Regions from separate parts of the Homo sapiens genome. Here regions 1, 3, 4, 5, 6 and 7 are each linked to region 2. Evidence: promoter capture Hi-C in 16 types of primary human blood cells and fetal thymus (Javierre and others, 2016). All regions are on one chromosome and are shown on one strand. The core of a region is centred on a gene start or on the middle of the fragment in contact, and the rest is flanking DNA. Distances in the headings are between cores, read along the strand shown. Region 1 holds the start of KCNN4 (potassium calcium-activated channel subfamily N member 4). Region 2 holds the start of XRCC1 (X-ray repair cross complementing 1). Region 3 has its middle 6.7 kb from the start of SMG9. Region 4 has its middle 23 kb from the start of LYPD3. Region 5 holds the start of ZNF283 (zinc finger protein 283). Region 6 overlaps LYPD5 (LY6/PLAUR domain containing 5). Region 7 overlaps SMG9 (SMG9 nonsense mediated mRNA decay factor).

Region 1 (2,934 bases), core at 304-2,803, 210 kb after region 2:
GGTCACTTCAGAGCTGCCCACCACCCCCTCCAGATCCAAGTCGGAACATCAGACCCTCAGGAATCTACCCAATCTTCATATCAGTGTCCGCATCTGGCCCTACCAGCCCAGTTCCACAACCCTTCTGCCAGAGAGGTCTCCAGCCCCTCCTTTCCTGTTGAGCAAGTCTGTTCTCCCCTCAAGCCACTTATTCCAACCCTTGTCCTTGATCTGCCCCATCACTGGCCTGACCAGGGCTGGAATGTGACGGGAGCCTGCTGAGACCTGCCCTGACCCCACTTTCCCCTTTCTTCCCTACTCACCACTCATCTTCGGAGTCAGCCCCTCTTCCCCAAAAGCAATCAAAACCCCCTTCTCCTTAAGACTCAGGAATCCAGGACCCAGCCCCCTCCTCTCCTGGTACCTAGGAGTCCAGGCCACTGTAAGCCTACCTCTCCACTATTTCCCTGACTAATCAGCATGCAGATTTGGGGAGAAATTGAGCTTGTTAACAGTGGAGACTGGGTTGGGGTTGGTGGGGGGAGGCAGGTCGGGGGAGAGGTTTGTTTCCCATTTCCCATCCCCACCCCCAAGGCAGTTTTTTCTGTCCTTTGCATCTAAGGCACTGGGTAAACATTAGAGGTTAGACAAGGACCAAAGAGCTGCCGCCTACTGGAAGAACTTTGTCTTTCCTCCACTCTCCCTTCACCAAACCTGGGGCTACCTCTCCCCTTATTGGCTCTTGGGGGGCTTGAGTGTCTGATCAGCCACCCTCTGGCCTCCAGGGGTCCTGGACCTCTGGCCGTCTAATGGCAACATCTTCAAAGACTGAAACACTGAAACAAATATTCCCTTCCTTTTGCAGAGAAGGACCCCAGCAACTGTCTCCTGGGAGCACCCAGGAGTCCCAGCCAAAGCCCCTCCTCCCTCAGACCCAAGAGTCTAGGCCCCCAACCTCTCCTCCCTCAGATCCAGGAGTCCTGACCCCCAGCCCCTCCTCCCTCAGACCCAGGAGTCCAGACCCCAGCCCCTCCTCCCTCAGACCCAGGAGTCCTGACCCCCAGCCCCTCCTCCCTCAGACCCAGGAGTCCAGGCCCTCAGTCCCTCCTCCCTCAGACCCAGGAGTCCAAGTCCCCAGTCCCTCCTCCCTCAGACCCAGGAGTCCTGACCCTCAGCCCCTCCTCCCTCAGACCCAGGAGTCCTGACCCCCAGCCCCCCCTCCCTCAGACCCAAGAGTCCTGACCCCCAGCCCCTCCTCCCTCAGACCTAGGAGTCCCAGCTCCCAGCCACCATGCCCCACTCACCGAGCACCCCCCGAACCACAGCATCTCTGCATGCAGCACCATGAGTCCAATGCCAGTTCCTGCCAGCACCAGTGCCCAGCCGGCCAGAGACTTCTCCTGCTCCAGCAAGCGCTTTCGGCGTCTCAAGGCCCCCAGGCCAAGCACCAGATCCCCGCCCATGGCCCCCGGGGTCTTGGGGCTCAGCCAGCTTCCTGCCCAGGGTCCCCCACCTCGCAGCACGCACAGGGCAGCCACTGTGGCTTGCAGGTCGTCAGCCTGCTCTGCTGGCTCTGGGACTTTTGCTCTGAGGCACAGCAGAGCCCTGTGCCCTCTGGGGAGTGGTGACGGCCAGGCAGGGCGGGGAGGGGCAGGGGAGGCCCCAGGGTAGGGGGAGGCTCCCCAGCTCCCCCTTTTGAGAATAAGGAGGGGCTAGGGTGTGTCTTGGGGCAGAGCAAGAAAGAGACGTCCATCCACGTGGATAAAGACACACACAGACACACGATGGGCTTTGTCACACACAATGGTCTGTACTTTGTGACACACACCTCTACTCACCACACCCAGACACCGAAGGACACTCCACAGCCCAAGACGGAGACTAACACACCAGGGCACACAACACAACCTACACAGAGTGACTCACAACTCCCAGCAAGCTCTGAAACCCACAGCCACACCCAGACACCACACACATGGTGTGACACACACCAGCACTTAGCAAGCAGGCAGTATCCCGTGGCACACACAGCCACCCAAACACCGTCCACACACAGGCACAAATATTACACTCAAAGTTGTCACAACTTTCTCTGACACAAAGAGCCACACCCAAACACCACAAATAGGACGATGCACAACTGTGGCCACACAAACACAACATACACCAGGTGTTACACAAACACACAATATATATTAAAGTAGTGACGCCCTGATGCCACACACCACACACCGACACAAACACTGTGCAGTCCCAGTTTCCTAAACACTACACACCCTTGGAACGAAACCCAATACGTGTAGACACACAACATTTAGGGACATACCTATAGTAGCCCCCAATCACCCAGAGCTAGAGAATTGCACATACATTGTGGCGCCTGTTGACTCGAACACAAGTGCTCGCAGTGATGATTCAAAACACGCACTGATTCAGCATGCTCTGATGTGTGGTGCGATTCAAATGTATGGTCAGAGGACAAGCTGAGTGGATGCATGCAGAGACCTACAAGGTACAGCGACACACGGAGAAACCCAAGAAGCACATGCCTGAAGCAAGATGATTCTGGTATATTCTGGCCACACAGGACAACATCCAGGATGATGCCCTGGGGGAAGGGGATGGGGTTGGACCTTCATAGACCCCAGTGCCCAAATGCAACATACGGCTGGGTGCAGTGGCTCATGCCTGTAATCCCAGCAGTTTGGGAGGTTGAGGTGGGAGGATTGCTGGAGCCCAGGGGTTTGAGACCAGCCTGGGCAACATAGCAAGATCCTATCTCTAAAACAAGCAAAAACAAAAAAACAAACGCAACATACACCATCACCTCTGAGCCATGAGCCACACCCAAACATGACATACAATACCTCCACACAACCCAACACGTTATATTCCAACATGCGTGGCCACACAACAACATACGCGGAGTAATACACCAGCACACAGTAACGCAAA
Region 2 (3,264 bases), core at 345-2,844:
CAGTTTCCTCATCTGTAAAAGTGGGGATAACAGAGCCTGCCTCTTGGGGTTTTTTATGAGGACTCAATGAGCTAATCCATGTGAGTGAGGTGTGTAGAGCAGCGACTGACAGGTAACGTTGAATAATGCCAGCTCTCATTATTATTATTTTATTTTTTATATTTTGGGGGTCTCACTCTGGTGCCCAGGCTGGAGTGCAGTGGCACAATCTCAGCTCACTGCAGCCTCCATCTCCTGGGCTCAAGCAATTCTCTCACCTCAGACTCGCCAGTAGCTGGGATTGCAGGTGCACACCACCATACTCAGCTAATCTATAAAATTTTGGTAGAGATGACATCTTACTGTATTGCCCAGGCTGGTCTCAAACTCCTGGGCTCATGCAATACTCCAGCTTCGGCCTCCCAAAGTGATGGGATTACAGGTGTGAACCACCATACCTGGCTATTATTCTTTAAAAAAAATTATTTATTTTAATAAAAATAGAGACAGGGTCTTGATATGTTGCCCAGGCTGGTCTGGAACTCCTGAGCTCAAGCAATCCTCCCATCTCAGGCTCTGAAAGTGCTGGGTTTACAGGCATGAGCCACGGCATCCGGCCAGTTTCCCCTTCTTTAAAGTGGAGTTGATTGGCTTAGACGACCTTCCTGGACACCTTCCAGCCCTGAGCCCACTGGCTGCAGGAGGCAGAGTACGTGGCAATGATTCATTTTGTTCCAGCTGAGGAAACTGGAACCCAGAAAGTAGATGCCACCTGCCCAGGACCACACACTGATTCCTGTGGTCATCCTGGACTTAATCCTTGGGTCTCCTTTCCTCTCTGCTGAGGGGCACAGGGATTATGCTGCCCATTTTCCGAGTAAGGAAGCTGAGGCCCAGCAAAGAAAGTGACTAAACCCACTGCCAGTTGGCTCAGGAGCAGAATCTGGAACCCCGGACTCCAGACTCCTAGTGAGGAGGAGGTGGGGTGGCAGGATCACCTGTAGGACCACAGAGATGGTCTTCTCGCCTGCCTTGGCTGCCCGCCATTTTCGGTAAGTGTCTGCCTTGAGAAGATTTTCTGCACAGTGAGTCTGGAAACAACAGTGGGAGAGGAGAATTAGGGCACAGAGATGACAGCTAGGCCTCCAGCTCTCAGATGATTCCTTTGAGTCCTCCCAAGGCCTCTACGACCCCCAGATTTAAGCTCTCCCGTTAATCCCCCGACACTCTGCCTGGAGTTTCCCCTACAACACTTTCCCGTGGAAGTTCACCTATGGGCTCTCCAAGAAAGCTTCCCTATTCCTCCTTTTCTCTCCGGAAGTTCCCTAGACGCCGGAACGTCCCTAATTCAACATCTCTCCACAATTCACTTTTAGCCTCCTGGAAATCCCCCCATGACTCTCCTTAGACTTCCAAGAGAACCCCAAAAGCTCTTTTAAGAGCTATCCTCATTAATTCCCTCACGTCTTCCAACCTCCCCCATGCAGGTCCCTCACCGAGTCCTGGCTGCTGCAGGACACGACATGGCGGAGGCGGATCTCCGGCATGTCAACGTCGTGGGCTTCGCCTGGCCAGAAGGATGAGGTAGAGTATGGGGTCCGAGGGGCAGGGAGAGTGGGAGGGGGCGGGGTGCGCCCTGCGCTGGCTAAAGTGCGCAAGCGCGCGAGGCTCGGGCCTTTCAAACCCCGGCGCGCCGGCGCCGGCGTCGACACTGCGCAAGCCCAGTCGCGCCTCTCCAGAGCGGGAAGAGCGCTGCGTTCCTTAGCAACGAGCGTTTCCTCCAGCCCCGCCTCCCTCCGCCACACACAACCCCGCTCTAGCCTCGCCTCCCAATGACGTCCGAACCCTGCTTTCTGGGAGCCTAGCAACAGAAGCGACCTCCGGGATTGGTGTCTGGAAGAAATTCGCCTTTCTCATTGCACGATGGAGTTACCGCCCACACTGAAGCCGAGAAAGCAAATCTTTTTGCTGTATTATTATTTATTTTATTTTTTAAAAATTTTTTGTTGAGACAGGGTCTTGCTCTCTCACCCAGGATGGAGTGCAGTGGCACGATCTCGGCTTTCTGCAACCCCTGTCTCCTGGGGCCAAGGGATCCTCCCACTTCAGCCTCCTAAGTAGCTGGGATTACACGCACGCGCCACCACATTCGGCTAATTTTTGTATTTTTTGTGGAGACATGGGGTGAGAGGGCGGCGGGTCTTGCCATGTTGCCCAGACTGGTCTCGAACTCCTCAGCTCAAGCGATCCACCTGCCTCGGCCTCTCAAAGTGCTGGAACTACAGGCGTGAGCGACTGCGCTGGGCTAGGACAGCAAATCTGAGTGAATTTTCGTAGTTTCGTAGGGAACCTGGATTCTACGCAACAGGATCTCTTCAAATGGCTCAGGCGGCTGCACTCTTCTCTCTGTCCCCTTGCCACACACACACACACGCACATATACATACATACGCGCGCGCGCACGCGCGAAAAAAATTAGCAGATCTCTTTCAGCCTTATGCCTGAGGCCAAAAGAGAAGGGTTCTGCGTCCTAAATATAACACAAAGCATGTGCCCAACCCCCACCACACACACACACACACACCCCTATCCTGGAGTTCTTCCACAAAAGCCTCAGTTTCCCAATATGTGGACTGTGGGCATCTGTCTTTTACTACGCCCGCCTATGACTGCCGACAGACATCCCTCTGTTCATTCGGTGCCTTGGAGACCCAAGGGTGCAGCCCTGGGTGGGGTCGCAGCTGGAGACAGCCCAAACACACAAGGAGTGTGAGCCGAGCACATGAAGAGAGGGGAAGGGAGACAAGGCACCCCGCACCCGCAGGACCAGCCTGGACATGCTGGGTGCTCCAAGGTGGGGCCCTACCCACACTGGGTGCTTCCTTGGGAGGAGAGGGGAAGAGAGAGAAGGAGAGGGAATCCCAGTTCTTGCAGCCACTGGGAATCAAGAGGCCCAACTCCGTCTTGGTCTTCAAGCAAACAAACAAACAACAATGGGCCGTGGGAAGGTGAGAAAACAGGGTGGTGACTTTCTGGGTTCTAATAGAAGAGGGGGATGGAAGCCCAGACTCCTGGGGTCTCCATGGAGGTGGGGGGCTGGGCACAAGATGCCCAGGTCACTTTTGGATTCTGGTTCTGCCTTCCCAACCCGGAGGCCACAGAGGACTGCCCTGGGTTCTGACCTCAGCTATTTCTCCCCGTAGGGTGAATGTGGGTCCAGACCCACCCCTCCTCAGCTTCCTATAAAAGCTGGGGACCAGGTACTGCTGATACACACACCATGAG
Region 3 (3,046 bases), core at 195-2,694, 190 kb after region 2:
GCACATTGTGCACATGTACCCTAAAACTTAAAGTATAATAATAATTAAAAAAAAAAAGTTCGAGAGGTTTTGGTCCTGGCCAACTGCCTGAAGACTGAGACTTTTTTTTTTTTTTTTTTTTTTTTTTTTTTGAGATGGAGTCTTGCTCTGTCGCCCAGGCTGGAGTACAGTGGCGTGATCTCGGCTCACTGCAAGCTCCGCTTCCTGGGTTCATGCCATTCTCCTGCCTCAGCCTCCCGAGTAGCTGGGACTACAGGTGCCCACCACCACGCCCGGCTAATTTTTTTGTATTTTTAGTAGAGTCGGGGTTTCACCATGTTAGCCAGGATGGTCTCGATCTCCTGACCTCGTGATCCACCCGCCTCAGCCTCCCAAAGTGCTGAGATTACAGGCGTGAGCCACCACGCCCGGCCTAAGACTGAGGCTTTTTACCGGGATGAGGAAAAGTACTTTTGATGGGAAATCAACAAGCTTTGAAATTCTTAACTTTGAGATGCACGTTGGTCATCAAATAAGTGGTTGGAGTTAGGGGAAAAAGCCGGGGTTTGTAGATAAAGACTTTCTGACTTTGCGTCACAGAATTTAGTTTAATTAATTAATTTATTTTGAGACAAAGTCTTGCACTGTCACCCAGGCTGGAATGCAATGGCACGATCTTGGCTCCCTGCAACCTCCACCTCCCGAGCTCAAGCAATCCTCCTGCCTCAGCCTCCCAAGTAGCTGGGACCACATATGCTCTAGCACACCCGGCTAATTTTTTAGAGATGAGGGTTCACTATGCTGCCTAGGCTGGTCTCGAACCCCTGGGTTCAAGCAATCCACCCCATCAGCCTCCCAAAGGCTGGGATTACAGTCACTACAGAGTTTTAAAAATACACACAAAGATGTTATGGTATGAAGAGACTCCCACGTACCCATCGCCCAATATTGACAGACATCTGCATTTTTCTTGTCTTATGTCTTCTATTTTTCCCTCCCACATATAAGCATACTTCCCGCCACCCCCTGGAGTTTTGTTTGTTTTAAGAAAATCACAGATAACCTGTCATTTTGTTAATAACTATACAAGTATGCTAAATTTTGGAGCTGCCTATTTATAGATGATATTTAAAGCTATGATTTGCTGAGATCATCTAGGCTGAGAGGTTGAAGAGAGCAGGGACTAGGCCTGAGCATCCCGCATGTAGAAGCCAGGATCCTGGAGAGGGGCTGAGATGGAGCCAGGAGTGTCAGGAGAGGGGATGACCTGGCGCCATGGGATCAAAGGGTTCCAAAGAGAAGATAATGGACTAAGGAGCAGAGACACGGGGCAGCAGCTGGAGGCAGATGTGGGGTCCACCATGGAAAAGACATGACTTTTGATCCCCCATCTAACTGTGTTATGGAACCTTCTCAGTATCTATCAGGAAAAATGTATAAGTACTTATTTTTCTTTATTTTTATTTATTTTCTTTTTGGGTGACATATAACTTAAGTGTGGTAAAGTATATAAAGGGCACAGATCTTAAGTGTACCAGGTAATGAATTTTCACAAATTTATGCATCCATGTAACCGCTAATCAGAGAACATTTCCAGCACCCAGACGTCTTCCTTGTGCTCTTTCCCTGTCAATTCCCCTGCTCCAGAAGCAACCACCCATCTAATGCCTTTCAAAAACAGGCACAGAGATTCGTTGTGTCTGTTTTTGAACTTCATGCGAATGAAATCTTACAGCATGTCTTCCGTGTGTCTGGCATCTTTAGCTCTTTATGTCTGGCAAAGTCTTTTATGTCATTCTATGTAGCAGGAGTTTAGAACCAACTTTATGGCCGGGCTTGGTGGCTCACATCTGTAATCCCAGCACTTTGGGAGGCGGAGGCAGAGGCAGGCAGAACACGTGAGGCTAGGAGTTCGAGACCAGCCTGGCCAACATAATGAAACCCCATCTCTACTAAAAATACAAAAAATTAGCTGGGCGTGGTGGAGGTGCATACCTGTAATCCCAGCTACACTCGGGAGGCCGAGGCACGAGAATTGCTTGAAGCTGAGAGGCAGAGGTTGCAGTGAGCCGAGATCACGCCACTGCACTCCAGCCTAGGTGACAGAGCGACAGATATTTTGCAGTTTGGTGAATAGTGAACTTTAAGGAAAATGGAGAATCTAAAATGCTTCTGAAAGTTCCAGTGGGATGTTTATAAGATGGGAGAAATTATAGCATGTTTGTGTGCAGATGGGAATGATAGAGGGAAAAGAGACCAGGAGACTTTGGAGCTGTTTTTTGAGGAGGTGTGGACAGGGTGAGGGGGCTAGACTTGACTTGAAGAAGGGCCAGCTCATCCTGGAAAAAGAAAGGAAAGTTTTATCATTTGACACCCCCTCCAAATTATAAAAAGCACTCTCCTGGTTTGTATATGTTAGCAGCTATTCCACACAACATAAAAGCTTAAAGCATGCCTTTGGACTGCCAGTCTGGTGTTGATGATGATGATACAGCTTCCTTTATGGACCATAATAAATAGCTGGGCTGGGCATGGTGGCTCCTGCCTGTAATCCCAGCACTTTGGGAGGCCAAGGTGGGAGGATCTCTTGAGCCCAGGAGTTTGAGACCAGCCTGGGCAACATAGTGAGACCCCCGTCTCTACAACAAAGAACTGAATAAATGTTAGTGATGTTTATTTTTATTCTGAGTGGATGGGGCAAGAAGGAGGGGAGAGCAGCAGGCAGTTTGGGAAGGAAGAGGAGCCTAGTGGCCTGAGCAGCCAGGACAGGGAGGAGAAGGGGAGGCCAGAAGACGGGGAGAGACTGAGCTTGCAGAGTCCCCCGGGTGAGGCTTGTGGGCATACTGACACAATGGAATACTACTGTGTAATGAAAAGGATGAGCAGCATGGCTGAATCTCACCACCACCCTGCAGAGCCCAAGACACAGATACACACCAGGGCGTGCAGCAGGGTTCCTTCCAAAGTTCAAAGTTGAACAAAAGGAATCAAGACAGGTCAGGATGGTGGTTCCTGGGATGAAGGGGGCTGTTGGCTGGGAGGGAAATGAGAGCTTTAGGGGGCTAGA
Region 4 (2,879 bases), core at 349-2,848, 130 kb before region 2:
GCAAGTGGCAGAATGGCAGGAGGCGGCATCTAAGAGGCAGGCACAGATCAGAGTATGGGGATAATGGATTTAGGAAGTTTTTTGTTTGTTTATGTTTTTGTTTAGAGACAGAGTCTTGCTCTGTCACCCAGGTTGGAGTGCAGTGGCGCGATCTTGGCTCACTGCAACCTCCATCTCCTGGGTTCAAGTGATTCTCCTGCCTCAGCCTCCAGAGTAGCTGGGATTACAGGCATGCACCACCATGCCCGGCTAATTTTTTGTATTTTTAGTAGAGACAGGGTTTTGCCATATTGCCCAGGCTGGTCTCGAACTCCTGAACGCAAGTACTCCACCCACCTCAGCCTCCCAAAGTGCTGAGATTACAGGCGTGAGCCACCGTGTCCAGCCATTTTTTTTTTTAAGGCAGGGTCTTGCTCTATCGCCCAGGCTGGAGTATAGTGGCACAATCATGGCTCACTGCAGCCTCAACCTCCTGGGCTCAAGCTATTCTCCTGTCTTAGCCTCCCACGTAGCTGAGACTACAGGCACAGGCCACTCCTAGCTTGGAGTGTGGATTTTATTGTGATTAAATTAGTTGTCAACCTAGATAACAAACAGCGAGAGGCTCTCTAAAAGAAACAAAAATTGGTTGGGCGAGGTGGCTCACGTCTGTAATCCTAGCACTTTGGGAGGCCGAGGCGGGTGGATCACTTGAGGTCAGGAGTTCGAGACGAACCTGACCAACATGGCAAAGCCTCATCTCTACTAAAAATACAAAAATTAGCCAGGCATCATGGCAGGTGCATGTAATCCCAGCTGCTAGGGAGGCCAAGGCAGGAGAATCAGTTGAACCCGGGGGGTGGAGGTTGCAGTGAGCCAAGTTCATGCCACTGCACTCCAGCATGGGCGAAAGAGTGAAACTACATCTCAAAAAAAAAAAAAAAGTTTATTCAAGAACAGAGAATTGCAATGGGAATAGGAGTGTTATACATATTCAAGGAGGTCAAAGAAGACAAAGGTTTTTAAAGAAAAAAAATGAGGAGAATTACATAATGGTTTTGAAATAATCATCTTTGGCTAGAAAAATGAATCACAAAGATGATGCCAGTCTGGGGTTGGACAGGCAGTTGCTGGGCAAACGTCCTTGCAGAAGTATTTTTCTGTGTAAGTTTGCAATGGTCTTTGTGTGAGATTGTGTTTTTTGCAGTTTTTTTGTGATAGTTTTTGTGATCAGTCATACAAGTATGAGAACCCTCTCTCCATGGCTTTCCTTCACTCTGTTGGTCGGAGCTTTTTTTTCTTTTTCTTTTTTTTAACATGAGTGACTCCATTTTGATTCTGATAACCTTCAAAAGTTCATATGTGCCTGGGTCATGGGGACTGCTTAGTAAATGCTAGCTTTCACTTTACTATTGGAATTTTTACCTCCAAAATGCAGCATCTCCCCATTCCAAGGTCCTAAGTAGAATGGAAGAGGAGATGCCAGGGAATCTTGACAAGGGAAACTTTCACGGTTGACTCTACATTTGAATTTCTATAGCAGGATTAAGTCTGTGTATTATTTACGTGATTTAAAAAGGCCGAGTGTGGTGGCTCACGCCTGTAATTCCAGGACTTTGGGAGGCTGAGGCAGGTGGATCACCTGAGGTCAGGAATTTGAGACCAGCCTGGTCAACATATAATGAAACCCCATCTCTACTACGAATATAAAAATTAGCCAGGCATGGTGGCATACACCTGTAATCCCAGCTACTCAGGAGGCTGAGGCAAGAGAATTGTTTGAACCTGGGAGGCAGAGGTTGCAGTGAGCCAAGATGGCACCACTGCACTCCAGCCTGGTGACAGAGCGAGACTCTGTCTCAAAAAAAAAAAAAAAAAATCTAAAAATTAGCTAGGCATGGTGGTGCACACTTGTGGTCCCAGCTACTTGGAAAACTAAGGCAGAAGGATCGCCTAAGCCTAGGAGGTCAAGGCTGCCATGAGCTGCGATCACACCACTGCACCCCAGGCTGGGTGACAGAGCAAGACCCCCTCTCACAAAAAAATTTTTAAAAAGATAATGTTAAATATATGTTAGTAGATAAATGTTCACAAAAATCATTAGTGTTGAAGGAAGTGAGGAAAAGATTAAAGGGTGTATTAGTCCATTCTCACACTGCTATAAAGATACTACCTGCTATAAAGATACTGGCCAGACAAGGTGGCTCATGCCTGTAATCCCTACTCTTTGGGAGGCTGAGGTGGGTAGATCACCCGATGTCAGGAGTTCAAGACCAGCCTGGCTAACATGATGAAAACCCGTCTCTACTAAAAATACAAAAAAAAAAAAAAAGTCAGGCATGGTGGCAGGCACCTGTAATCAGCTACTCAGGAGGCTGAGGCAGGAGAATCACTTGAATCCAGGAGACAGAGGTTGTGAGCCGAGATCGCACTACTGCACTCCAGCCTGGGCAACAAGAGGGAAACTCTGTCTCAAAAAAAAAGATACTACCTGAGACTGGGTAATTTATAAACAAAAGAGGTTTAATTGACCTGCAGTTCCACATTGCTGAGGAAGCCTCAGGAAACTTACACTCATGGCGGAAGGGGAAGGGGAAGCAAGCACCTTCTTCACAAGGTGGCAGGAGAGACAGTGCAGGGGAAACGGCCACTTATAAACCATCAGATCTCATGAGAACTGCATGGGGGAACCACCCCCAAGATCGAATCACCTCCCACCAGGTCCCTCCCTCCACATGTGGGGATTACAATTTGAGATGAGGTTTTGGGGGGACACAGAGCCAAACCATATCACCAGGGTTAAGATTTATAAATTGCTCTGTGAACCCCGAAAATCTGAGACAGGTCTCAGTTAATTCAGAAAGTTAATTAGGAGACCAAGGTTGAGAATGCACGCACAT
Region 5 (2,841 bases), core at 160-2,659, 250 kb after region 2:
CTATGGAAATAAAAAATTAAAAAAAAATCAGACCCCCAAAATATTCAGAGTAGTACTTGTGGGAGTCATTGAGCAAGTAACATGGGAAGAGAGGAGGCTGCTTCCACCAGTGGTTTTGGAGGTGGAGCAGATGCTGATGATAATGAAGTCCCAGATGGGAAACGGGGATGGGTGCCGAGGAAAGCTCAAGGACCCTGCAGATGAGGACTCAGACCCACGATACTGGATGAGGCATCCATGTCACCATGGGAGTCAACCAGGGTAGTGGCCTCAGCTGAGGCAGGGGAAAAGCTGGGATCCAAGAGCTCTAGTCTTCTCTTGATAAGCAAGAGAGACCAGGAGGTGAGAGATGGCAGAGGATGAGAGAGGTGATATCAGTGACCAGAAAGAGCCCCTAAAAAGTAACTTCCTTTTCTTTCTGTTAGTTTTAATATAAAATTTCGCTTTAATATTTTTAGACAATTCTTTTTTAAAAAAGTATTTATATCCAAAGGTTCTTACCACACCAACCACAGCCCCAATCTTTTTGCCCTAACCTCAGAATCAGTTAGTTGTCTCCTTTAAAACCTTTCTCTCTCTCACACACCCACACACACACACACGCAAACACACAGGAGAGAGAGAGAGGGAATATATAGTATTGTTTTTGGAGTATGAGTGTGTGCTTCAGAATAAATGGTTTCATACTCTATAAAAAATGAGATTCAAATTTTATAATCCATCAAGTTTTATTGGAACACAGCCATGCTGGATTGCTTGTGCATTGTTTATGGCCGCCTTTGCACTGCCATAAGTCTCCACGGTCACAATATCCACTCACTACCACTTATTGTTGTCTTTCAACAGCGGCATATAAAATCTGTAACACAGTTCATCTCACACCTAATAAAACAGACTCACACAGGCATAAATTTAGAAAACATCCCATGAACATAAACAGGTCCACGCAGGGTCCCAGACACCGAATCGAACTAAGAAACTCCCTCACAGCAAGACACACCCATCTGTTCAATTGCCAGACACTGTTCCAGGCGCTCATACCCAGGTAAACTGGTAGTGTCGCGCAGGTCATTTCCAGCGAACTTACCCCGGATTCCCTTGCTCGCTCACGTCTAAGTCCCCAGACACCCCAGTCCCATCTTCGCCTGTTCTAGACTCCAGAATGCGTTCCTTAGCGAAAGCTGAGAACCTTTTAATTCGCTCTCAGTCAACACCAAAGACCCTCAAGCAAAAGCAAGAGCTCCCGGGCGTCTTCGAAAAAAGCGCCTTTGACAGGTGAAGCCAAGTTGCATGCTGGGAGCATCCCTGCTGTCCAGGTTTCAACTTCCGGAGACTCTGCCGCTGTGGACTACATTTCCCAGAAGTCTCCGGGGCACAGGCCTTTTAGGGGCGGGGCGAGCTTGCCTGCCAGAAGCTCCTCTCCCAGCCTGCGAGCATTTCCAGGCTCTTGTTTCCCATCAGCCTCTGGGTCCAAACTAACCACAGGTCTCTGGGTCCTTTTCCGGTGTCCTTAAGGTTCTTGGACTCTGCATGGTGAGTTGGTCGTGTCTGTAGAAGTAATCAGCCCGGGTGAAGCTGGGAGGGCTCGGCTGGCTTTACTGGGGCCCGACTGGAACCGGCAGTGAGGGTGGGGGTGGCATCGGGGGTGCTGGAGGTGGGGAGGGCTGGGTCACGGACAGAGCGTGTCGTGTCCGGATCCTCAAGCCTGTGTGCACGCGAGCAGCCGAGGGACAGTGTGTCTCAGACGGCGTGGCAGGGACGGGGCGTGTCCCCACGGAGGTGGGTGCAGTTGTGAATGTGTGACGGGCTGACAGGGTGCGTGGCCGTATTTGTAAATGTGATTTGCTTTGACCAAATGCTCTAGGTTCCCTTTAGCCTGTCTTCGGGCCTGCCACAATTAAATGACCGCAAGAAAGAAGTCTATGCTAAGCCCCATAATGAACGTTTCAAGCAAGAAGGATGAGAATTTTAGATCTGGAAGTGTCCGCGGGACAGGATCTTGTCAAGACCTGATGGGGAAGTTCTAGAGGTGGGATTCCTAGAAGAGGGGCCTCTAGGAGCTCTTTGGTGGTGAGCTACATGTTTCAGAGCCATTGCAAGCAGACCTCTGTCCCCAAGAATTGCCCTCAACACAGAGACAGACTCTAGCCTCCCTTTTCATTCCGTTTGGTTTTGTGTGGATGAAGGCAGAAGTGGCCCCAGAGGGTGTTTTGCTCTTCTTTTTCTTTTTTAATTAAGTCTGTGACGCGCTAGAAATGCTGATGTCTCATGTTACTGTTTTTTCCCCCAGTGCTGCCAGGTTGCCAGATTTCTAAGAAGGAGTTTGAAGAGGAGAAAAGGATTTTTGCATGTTTAGAAATCAAGGTTCAGGTGAGGTTTTTTATACATACTTTTTAAATACATACACATACAATTACCTTTGCTTCTAGGTCATGAGAACATTTTCTTTCCTTGGCCTGAAATATCTTGACTGGGTTTTCCCAGTTACATGACCCGCCATGCTGGTACATATTTCCTCCCAGTGGCCCCCTATTGTTCTTCTCCACAATTCTTACCCACCTGTTCATATGGCAAATTGTTCAAATACTTCAGTGCATTATGATGCACTGAAGAGTTATAGAAAGGCACCTCTTGTAGATTGCTATTAGAGCATTATTTTATACTATGATTATTTGAAGAGATTAGTAATTAGGTGGTGTTATATAAACATTATTTTTTATCTTTTCTGTAGTCATAATTAAAATTTTTTTTTAACTTTTTTTAGAGACAAGGTCTCACTCTGTTGCCCAGGCTGAGTGCAGTAGTATAGTCATAGCTCAGTGCAACCTTGAAGTCCTGGGC
Region 6 (2,862 bases), core at 116-2,615, 220 kb after region 2:
CCCCTTCCCACAAGTCTACTTGCTGACATGGAGCGAGAAGACACGGGAGTCTACTCTTGCTATGCACTTACTCTGAAAATTGCTCTCTCACTGTGCTTTGGGCATCTTGTCTGTAAAACAGGAAGGTGTCTTAGTCCCTTCAGGCTGCTGTAACAAAATACCATAGACTGTATGGCTTATACACAACAGAAATTTATGTCTCATAGCTCTGGAGTCTGGGAAGTCTGCAATCAATGCACCAGCAGATTCGATGGCTGGTGAGAACCCACTTTCTTGCTTATAGGCACCTGCTGGCTGTGTTCTCATGTGGTGGAAGGGGCAAGGCAGCTCTCCAGGGCCTCTTTTATAAGGGCACTAATCCTATTCATGGGGGCTCCACCCTCATGATCTCACCACCTCCCAAAGGCCCCACCTCCCAGTAATATCACTTTGGTAATTAGGTTTCAAAAGATGAATTTTGGGGAGACACAAACATTCAGACAATAGCAGGATGCAACTTACTTTTTTGCTTCTCTCACTGAGTTGCTGGAAAGATCAAGTGGCAAAAAGCATGTGAAAGAACATGGTCAAGCATGTGCACAGAGAACATGCTAAAGGATCCCATCTCTATGAAGTTCATGCAGTTATGAAAGTGTCCTGCACTCATGAAAGTGTCCTGCACTCCTTGTGCTCCTTCCTCCCTCAGACCTTTGTCCAGGCTGTCTCCTCTACCTAGAATGCGCTTCCTCCTGCTTCTTTTTGCCAGCTACTATTGATCCTTTAGGATTTTGCTCAAGGGTGAATTCCTCCAGGAAGTCTTCCCTGATCTTTATAGCTTGGAGAATTTCACCTCGCTGAACTTTGCCTTGTGTGTTTTTCTGTGAAGTTAATCGGCACTCATGTGTTTAGGAGGTGGGGTTGCTTAGCAGTTCGTGGGGCTGGGAATCTGGTCCCTGAATCCATACTCACTAGATACACAAGCTCAACCAAGTGCTTTTGCCTCTCAGTTTGTTGACCTGTGACTTAGGGCTTATGACAAGTAGCCCATTTACACTGGGCCACTGCTGTGTCCCAAGTACTAAATGTTCATCTCGTTGAATCCTCACTGCAACTACTGTGAAGTAGTTCTTGTCATGTTATAGAGTTTATTTTCACCTCCACCTTATAGGTGAGAAAATATTGGCACAGAGAGCTCAAGTAACTCACCCACAGTCTCTGCAGGCTGAATGGTGGAGCTGGGATTTGAACCCATGCAGCTTAGCTCCAGAGCCTGGCTTAAGTAACTCACCCATGGTCTCTGTAGGCTGAATGCTGGAGCTGGGATTTGAACCCATGCAGCTTAGCTCCAGAGCCTGGCTTAAGTAACTCGCTCATGGTCTCTGCAGGCTGAATGGTGGAGCTGGGATTTGAACCCATGCAGCTTAGCTCCAGAGCCTGGCCTACTAACTGTTAGGGCATACTGCTTATTGGGCTTCTCATGATGACACTAATAAAGACATCATTGTATAGCTCCCTCCTAGAGCTGCGACAGGCTCTGGAGGGAGAGCACAGGAAGCCGTGTTATGGGGTGCCTGGTGCCTGGCTGGTGCTCAGTGAGTAACAGCTGTGATCAGAATTGCTCTTCATCGGGGCACGACATGGCTGTTTTGCCCTCCCCGGGGATGCTGGTGACTGTGTCCAGTTTCTTCCAGTACTGTTGGCCAGGTTGTGGGGCACAAGGGCGGGAGAGATGGAAGGCCAGAGGGACAGGAGTGCAATTCTTACTTTAACATCATTTTCCAGTGAGCTATGTGATAGGGGCTGAAGCAGCAAGAATGAGGTGTGTGAGCCCTGTCCCCAGCATCCTGGAGGGGCGGTCTATGCTGAGAGCCCCACCAGCAGGAGGACTGGGAGGAGCAGGGCCAGGACCTGTAGTGCTCGGGGAGGGGTGGTGGCTGAAGCACTGGTGAAGGGCTGGGTCATGGATTTCCTGTTGCAGAGGTACCCCTCACAGCAGGAGCCCTGGAGGTCGATGGCTGTCCAGGGGCTGGTGGTGCCCTCGGTGGTGCAGGAGGGCCGGTGGCAGGTTCTGATGTACACAGGGACTGAGAAATTGCCTGGAGGTGGGCAAAGCAGTGAGGAACGGTCAGAACTGAGGGAGACAGCTGCACCTGAACCTTCACCTTGGTAGCTAGGGCCATGCCTCGGTCCTCAGACTTGCTTCAGGTTTTCCTCCTAAGACCAGGGCCAGGCCTCCCTCAGACCAGGGCCATGCCTCTTCCCTCAGAACAGGGTCGTGCCTCCTCCCTCAGACCAGGGCCATGCCTCTTCCCTCAGACCAGGGGCCATGCCTCCTCCCCCAGACCAGGGTTATGCCTCCTCCCTCAGACCAGGGCATGGCCTCCTTCCTCAGAGCAGGGCCAGGCTTCTCCCTCAGACCAGGGTCTTGCCTCCTCCCTCAGACCAGGGTCATGCCTCCTCCCTCAGACCAGGGTCATGCCTCCTCCCTCAGACCAGGGTCATGCCTCCTCCCTCAGACCAGGGCCAAATCTTCTCCCTCAGACCAGGGCCAAATCTTCTCCCTCAGACCAGGGTCAAACCTTCTCCCTCAGACCAGGGTCATGCCTCCCACCTCAGAGCAGGGCCATGTCTCCCTGTTGGGCCTGTCTGGTATCACTACCCTCATGGCTGCCCTGCCTCCATATCCCTTGCCCAGGCCCTTCCACCCTTCCAGCCCCTTACCAACTGTCATTCTGCCATTGCCCTGGAAGCAGGCGGTCTGGTCCTGGTGACACTGGACTCGTCGGGACCTGCCGATAGCGCAGTCATCCTGGTGGACCCCGATACAGGCGTAGCACTCGGCGCCGCTGAGCGTCGGCGGGTCGGGTGCTGGCAAGAGAGCGT
Region 7 (3,130 bases), core at 361-2,860, 170 kb after region 2:
GGTGGGAGGTGCATATGGGCAACAGTGGAAGGGGAGGGCTTCTGAGAGGAGGCCACACCCCAGTGGAGTCTTGAGGAAGAAGAAGGCGTTAGCCAGGCAAAAACGCAAGGCGAGAGCCTATTGTACTGATAATGGTATTAATTGCTAAGGGTATTTAGCACCTAACTCCTGTTGGGTGCTGTCATTAGGACTTTACTTGCATCGATGCACTGAAACCTCACAAAACCCCTATGAGGCAGGCAGTATTGTTTTTCCCACTTAAAACTGAGGAATGAAAATAAATAACTTGACAAGGTCACACAATTCGTTGGTGGTTTCAGGTAAAAACGGGATATGCGAAGTCCAGAGAAGAGAGAGATCAGTGTGTGTGTGCTGGGGGTCTGGTGGCTCCTCCAGAGGCGAGGATAGGCAGTCTGAGGGAGGCAAGCCACACCCTCCGAATGCCAGCTTAAGGAATCTGGACTTTGCCTGAGAGGAAGGGAGAAGCCGAGGAAAACTGCCAGGTAAACGCAGGACCAGTCAGTGCTAACGACAGTGACGAGCCTGAGCACTAACCTTGTGCCAGGTCCTGGCCAAGCACTTTGCCTGGATTGTTCCACTGAATCCTTGAAACTCCTAAGAGGCTAAGTACAGTTACCATCCCTATTTACAGATAAAGAGCTGTGGTTTAAGGGAGTTTAAAACTGAAAGTCACCCAGCTGGTAAGAACTAACAGACAGGATCAGAACACACATTCTCCAGGGCCCACACTTTTCAGCACTATACTAGAAATCCTTTAGGCTACTGTGTAGAAGGCGAATGAGATGGGGGCAAAAGTGACAAGAGACTAAGGGCCAAGAAAAGACACAATTTGCCCCAGGGCAGCCAGTATGTCCATGGCTTGACTGGAAGCACATGGAATCCACGCAGGGTTCTGGCTTAATCACATTCCAGGAAGAGGCTCAATGCAGGATGTGGCAGGGTGGGGCAAAGGCAGGCGGGGCTGGCACCTGTGTGTCCAGGAAAACAATCCGTTCTTGGGTAATAAAGAAGTCGATGCCACTGGTCTGGTTGCCCCCTCGTTCCTTCATTTCAGCGCTCTGGGCCCGGAAAACATAAGTCCTGTGGAGAGGAGCAGGCAGGGGTGTGTGAGAGCTCTGGTTCTCAGCCTTGGATGCATCCGAAGTGTGACCCTGTGAGCTGAGCATGTGAGCCGTGGTGCCCTGCCTGCTCCCTAAGCTTTTCATCTGTGGCCCATGTCAGGGGGTGGGAGGCGGGGGTAGTGCATGTTTTGAAGCACACAATTTCACTCCTATCCATAAAGAGATCCATTAGTTCAATTAATGAAGCCAGTACACTGAGGTGTTGAAGGGCAGAGACTCCGCCAGTCTGCCAGGATTCAGATCCCAGCTCTGCCTCTTCCTGGCTGTGTGGCTTTAGGCACACTCCTTAACCTTTTTCCATCAGTTTCCTCATCTATAAAACGGGGATAACCACATGATCAAAACTCTGTGTATTACTGTGAGGTCGGTATGTGTAAAGCCCTTAGAATGGTGCCTGATATATAATGATATATACTTTTAGCTGTTAATTATCAAATAAACCTACTAGATCCCAGGCATTGGAGAGAGAGCACTGAGTGCCCTCCACTCCCACAGTGAGAGAGAGTTTGGGTCTTGTTCCCAGCATCTTCCCCTGTCAGGTGAGTCTCCCTCACTTCTACGTGTGCTGGGTGCTGGGAATATGAGGGCAAAGCAGGCAGAGCAGGGCCGTGCCCTAAACCACTAAGTTCAACTTGGTGACTCTGTGACTTGGGCAAAGTGATTTTACCTTTTGAAATCTGTAAAATCAGGGTAATAGTACCTACCTCTCAAGGGGTAATTTCTATCTCCCCTCAAGATGCATAATCTGTTGTCTGACACAAAGCAGGCATCCTTCCACTTTACAAACACTATACGGAAAACCTCCTATTTGCCAGATACCAGGATATAGCAGTGAACAAAAAAGACTAAGTCGGCTTCTGTGAAGCTTCTGGTCTAGTTTACAAATTACCAGAAATCAGTAACTGTGGGTGTTAGAAAGAAGAGGCGTGCAGTGCTCCAAGTGCAGATTGCTTAGTTGGTGGAGCCAGAAAGGGCTGCCCTGGAGAGGGAAATGACAATGCTGAGGGTGAGAGAGAAAGAGGGAGTTAATTGGCACTGGGTGGGGGATGGACGCAGAGGAAGGTTGCATCGGCAGAAAGTAGGTGGCTTGTTGTACTAGGACTCAAAGACCAGCATGGCAAGAGCAGAAAGATGGTGCATGTGGGAGGGGAGGGAGCAAGAAGAGGATACACAGACCCTTGTGGAGCATGGTAAGGCTTTGGCCTATGAGCCTGGAGAAGCTGCTGGAGAGATGTAAGTAGAGGAGTGACAGGATCAGACTGTGGTTTGAAAGGTCCCCTTGCTGCTATGTGGTGAGGACCGTACGGTGGAAAAAGTGGAGATAGGCTTACAAGGCCCAGTGCCAGAGTGCCTCGCTCTGCCTCTCTGGCCTTATCTCCTACCACTCCCCTTCTAAGGCTGCCACGTTCTTCTACACACACTATGGGCAAGCTCCCACTTCAGACGCATTGCCCATGCCAGTCCCTTTCACTGGAATGCTCCTCCCAGCATGCTTTTTCTCAAACGTTCCCCTTAGCAAGGCCTTCCCTCACCATCCTATTTAAAACTATAACCTAGTCTGGGCAACACAGCAAGACCTCATCTCTACAAAAAATAAAAAAAAATATTAAGGGCATGGTCGCTCATGCCTGTAATCCCAGAGCTTTGGGAGGCCAAGGTGGGAGGATCACTTGAGGTCAGGAGTTCAAGACCAGCTTGGCCAACATGGTGAAACCCTGTCTCTATTAAAAATACAAAAATTAGCCGGATGTGGTGGTGCACGCCTGTAATCCCAGCTACTCGGGAGGCTGAGGCAGGAGAATTGCCTAAACCTAGGAGATAGAGGTTGCAGTAAGCCAAGATGGAGCCACTGCACTCCACCCTGGGTGACAAAGCGACAATTGTCTCAAAAATAAAAAATAAATAAATTAGCCAGGCATGGTGGTACACAAATGTAGTCCTAGCTACTCAGAAGGCTGGGGTCAAAGGATCACGTGAGCCCAGTCTGG

What was found. Contacts are between HindIII fragments. The CHiCAGO score rates a contact against its expected background, and 5 or more counts as called.
Region 1: a contact is called between the fragment with the promoter of KCNN4 here and the fragment with the promoter of XRCC1 in region 2, in 3 of 17 cell types (neutrophils, activated CD4 T cells and naive CD4 T cells). The highest score is 6.3, in neutrophils.
Region 3: a contact is called between a fragment that was not itself captured here and the fragment with the promoter of XRCC1 in region 2, in 8 of 17 cell types (non-activated CD4 T cells, monocytes, total B cells and 5 more). The highest score is 8.4, in non-activated CD4 T cells.
Region 4: a fragment that was not itself captured here is called in contact with the fragment with the promoter of XRCC1 in region 2 in 10 of 17 cell types (naive CD4 T cells, total CD8 T cells, naive CD8 T cells and 7 more); the score reaches 15.6 in naive CD4 T cells.
Region 5: a contact is called between the fragment with the promoter of ZNF283 here and the fragment with the promoter of XRCC1 in region 2, in 14 of 17 cell types (neutrophils, activated CD4 T cells, naive CD8 T cells and 11 more). The highest score is 17.8, in neutrophils.
Region 6: a fragment that was not itself captured here is called in contact with the fragment with the promoter of XRCC1 in region 2 in 3 of 17 cell types (activated CD4 T cells, non-activated CD4 T cells and naive CD4 T cells); the score reaches 6.2 in activated CD4 T cells.
Region 7: a fragment that was not itself captured here is called in contact with the fragment with the promoter of XRCC1 in region 2 in 3 of 17 cell types (non-activated CD4 T cells, total B cells and naive CD4 T cells); the score reaches 5.8 in non-activated CD4 T cells.

The regions. Positions count from the first base shown.
Region 1 is chr19:43,779,420-43,782,353 of GRCh38, forward strand. It overlaps KCNN4 (potassium calcium-activated channel subfamily N member 4), which reads right to left and starts at 1,554. Exons shown (of 9, transcript NM_002250.3): 1 at 1,284-1,554. The coding sequence starts at 1,442. RefSeq lists enhancers at 1-441, 800-929 and a silencer at 1,536-1,805. The HindIII fragment of the contact is 12,714 bases long and covers 1-2,934 here.
Region 2 is chr19:43,573,933-43,577,196 of GRCh38, forward strand. XRCC1 (X-ray repair cross complementing 1) reads right to left here and starts at 1,595. Exons shown (of 17, transcript NM_006297.3): 1 at 1,476-1,595; 2 at 978-1,070. The coding sequence starts at 1,526. It overlaps PINLYP (phospholipase A2 inhibitor and LY6/PLAUR domain containing), which reads left to right and starts at 1,869. Exons shown (of 6, transcript NM_001193621.3): 1 at 1,869-2,987; 2 at 3,183-3,264. The coding sequence starts at 3,260. RefSeq lists a silencer at 1,549-1,708 and enhancers at 1,809-1,968, 1,969-2,495, 2,496-3,021. The HindIII fragment of the contact is 21,720 bases long and covers 1,269-3,264 here.
Region 3 is chr19:43,760,162-43,763,207 of GRCh38, forward strand. No RefSeq gene overlaps it. Among named protein-coding and RNA genes, the nearest start is that of SMG9, 6.7 kb to the left of the region's middle. The HindIII fragment of the contact is 1,951 bases long and covers 470-2,420 here.
Region 4 is chr19:43,440,838-43,443,716 of GRCh38, forward strand. No RefSeq gene overlaps it. Among named protein-coding and RNA genes, the nearest start is that of LYPD3, 23 kb to the right of the region's middle. The HindIII fragment of the contact is 6,258 bases long and covers 1-2,879 here.
Region 5 is chr19:43,825,912-43,828,752 of GRCh38, forward strand. It overlaps ZNF283 (zinc finger protein 283), which reads left to right and starts at 1,410. Exons shown (of 7, transcript NM_181845.2): 1 at 1,410-1,533; 2 at 2,291-2,370. RefSeq lists an enhancer at 1,268-1,467. The HindIII fragment of the contact is 6,325 bases long and covers 1-2,841 here.
Region 6 is chr19:43,795,755-43,798,616 of GRCh38, forward strand. It overlaps LYPD5 (LY6/PLAUR domain containing 5), which reads right to left. Exons shown (of 5, transcript NM_001031749.3): 4 at 2,701-2,847; 5 at 173-2,075. The coding sequence ends at 1,837. Among named protein-coding and RNA genes, the nearest start is that of LYPD5, 5.3 kb to the right of the region's middle. The HindIII fragment of the contact is 6,084 bases long and covers 1-2,862 here.
Region 7 is chr19:43,739,118-43,742,247 of GRCh38, forward strand. SMG9 (SMG9 nonsense mediated mRNA decay factor) reads right to left here. Exons shown (of 14, transcript NM_019108.4): 7 at 990-1,101. Among named protein-coding and RNA genes, the nearest start is that of SMG9, 14 kb to the right of the region's middle. The HindIII fragment of the contact is 789 bases long and covers 1,217-2,005 here.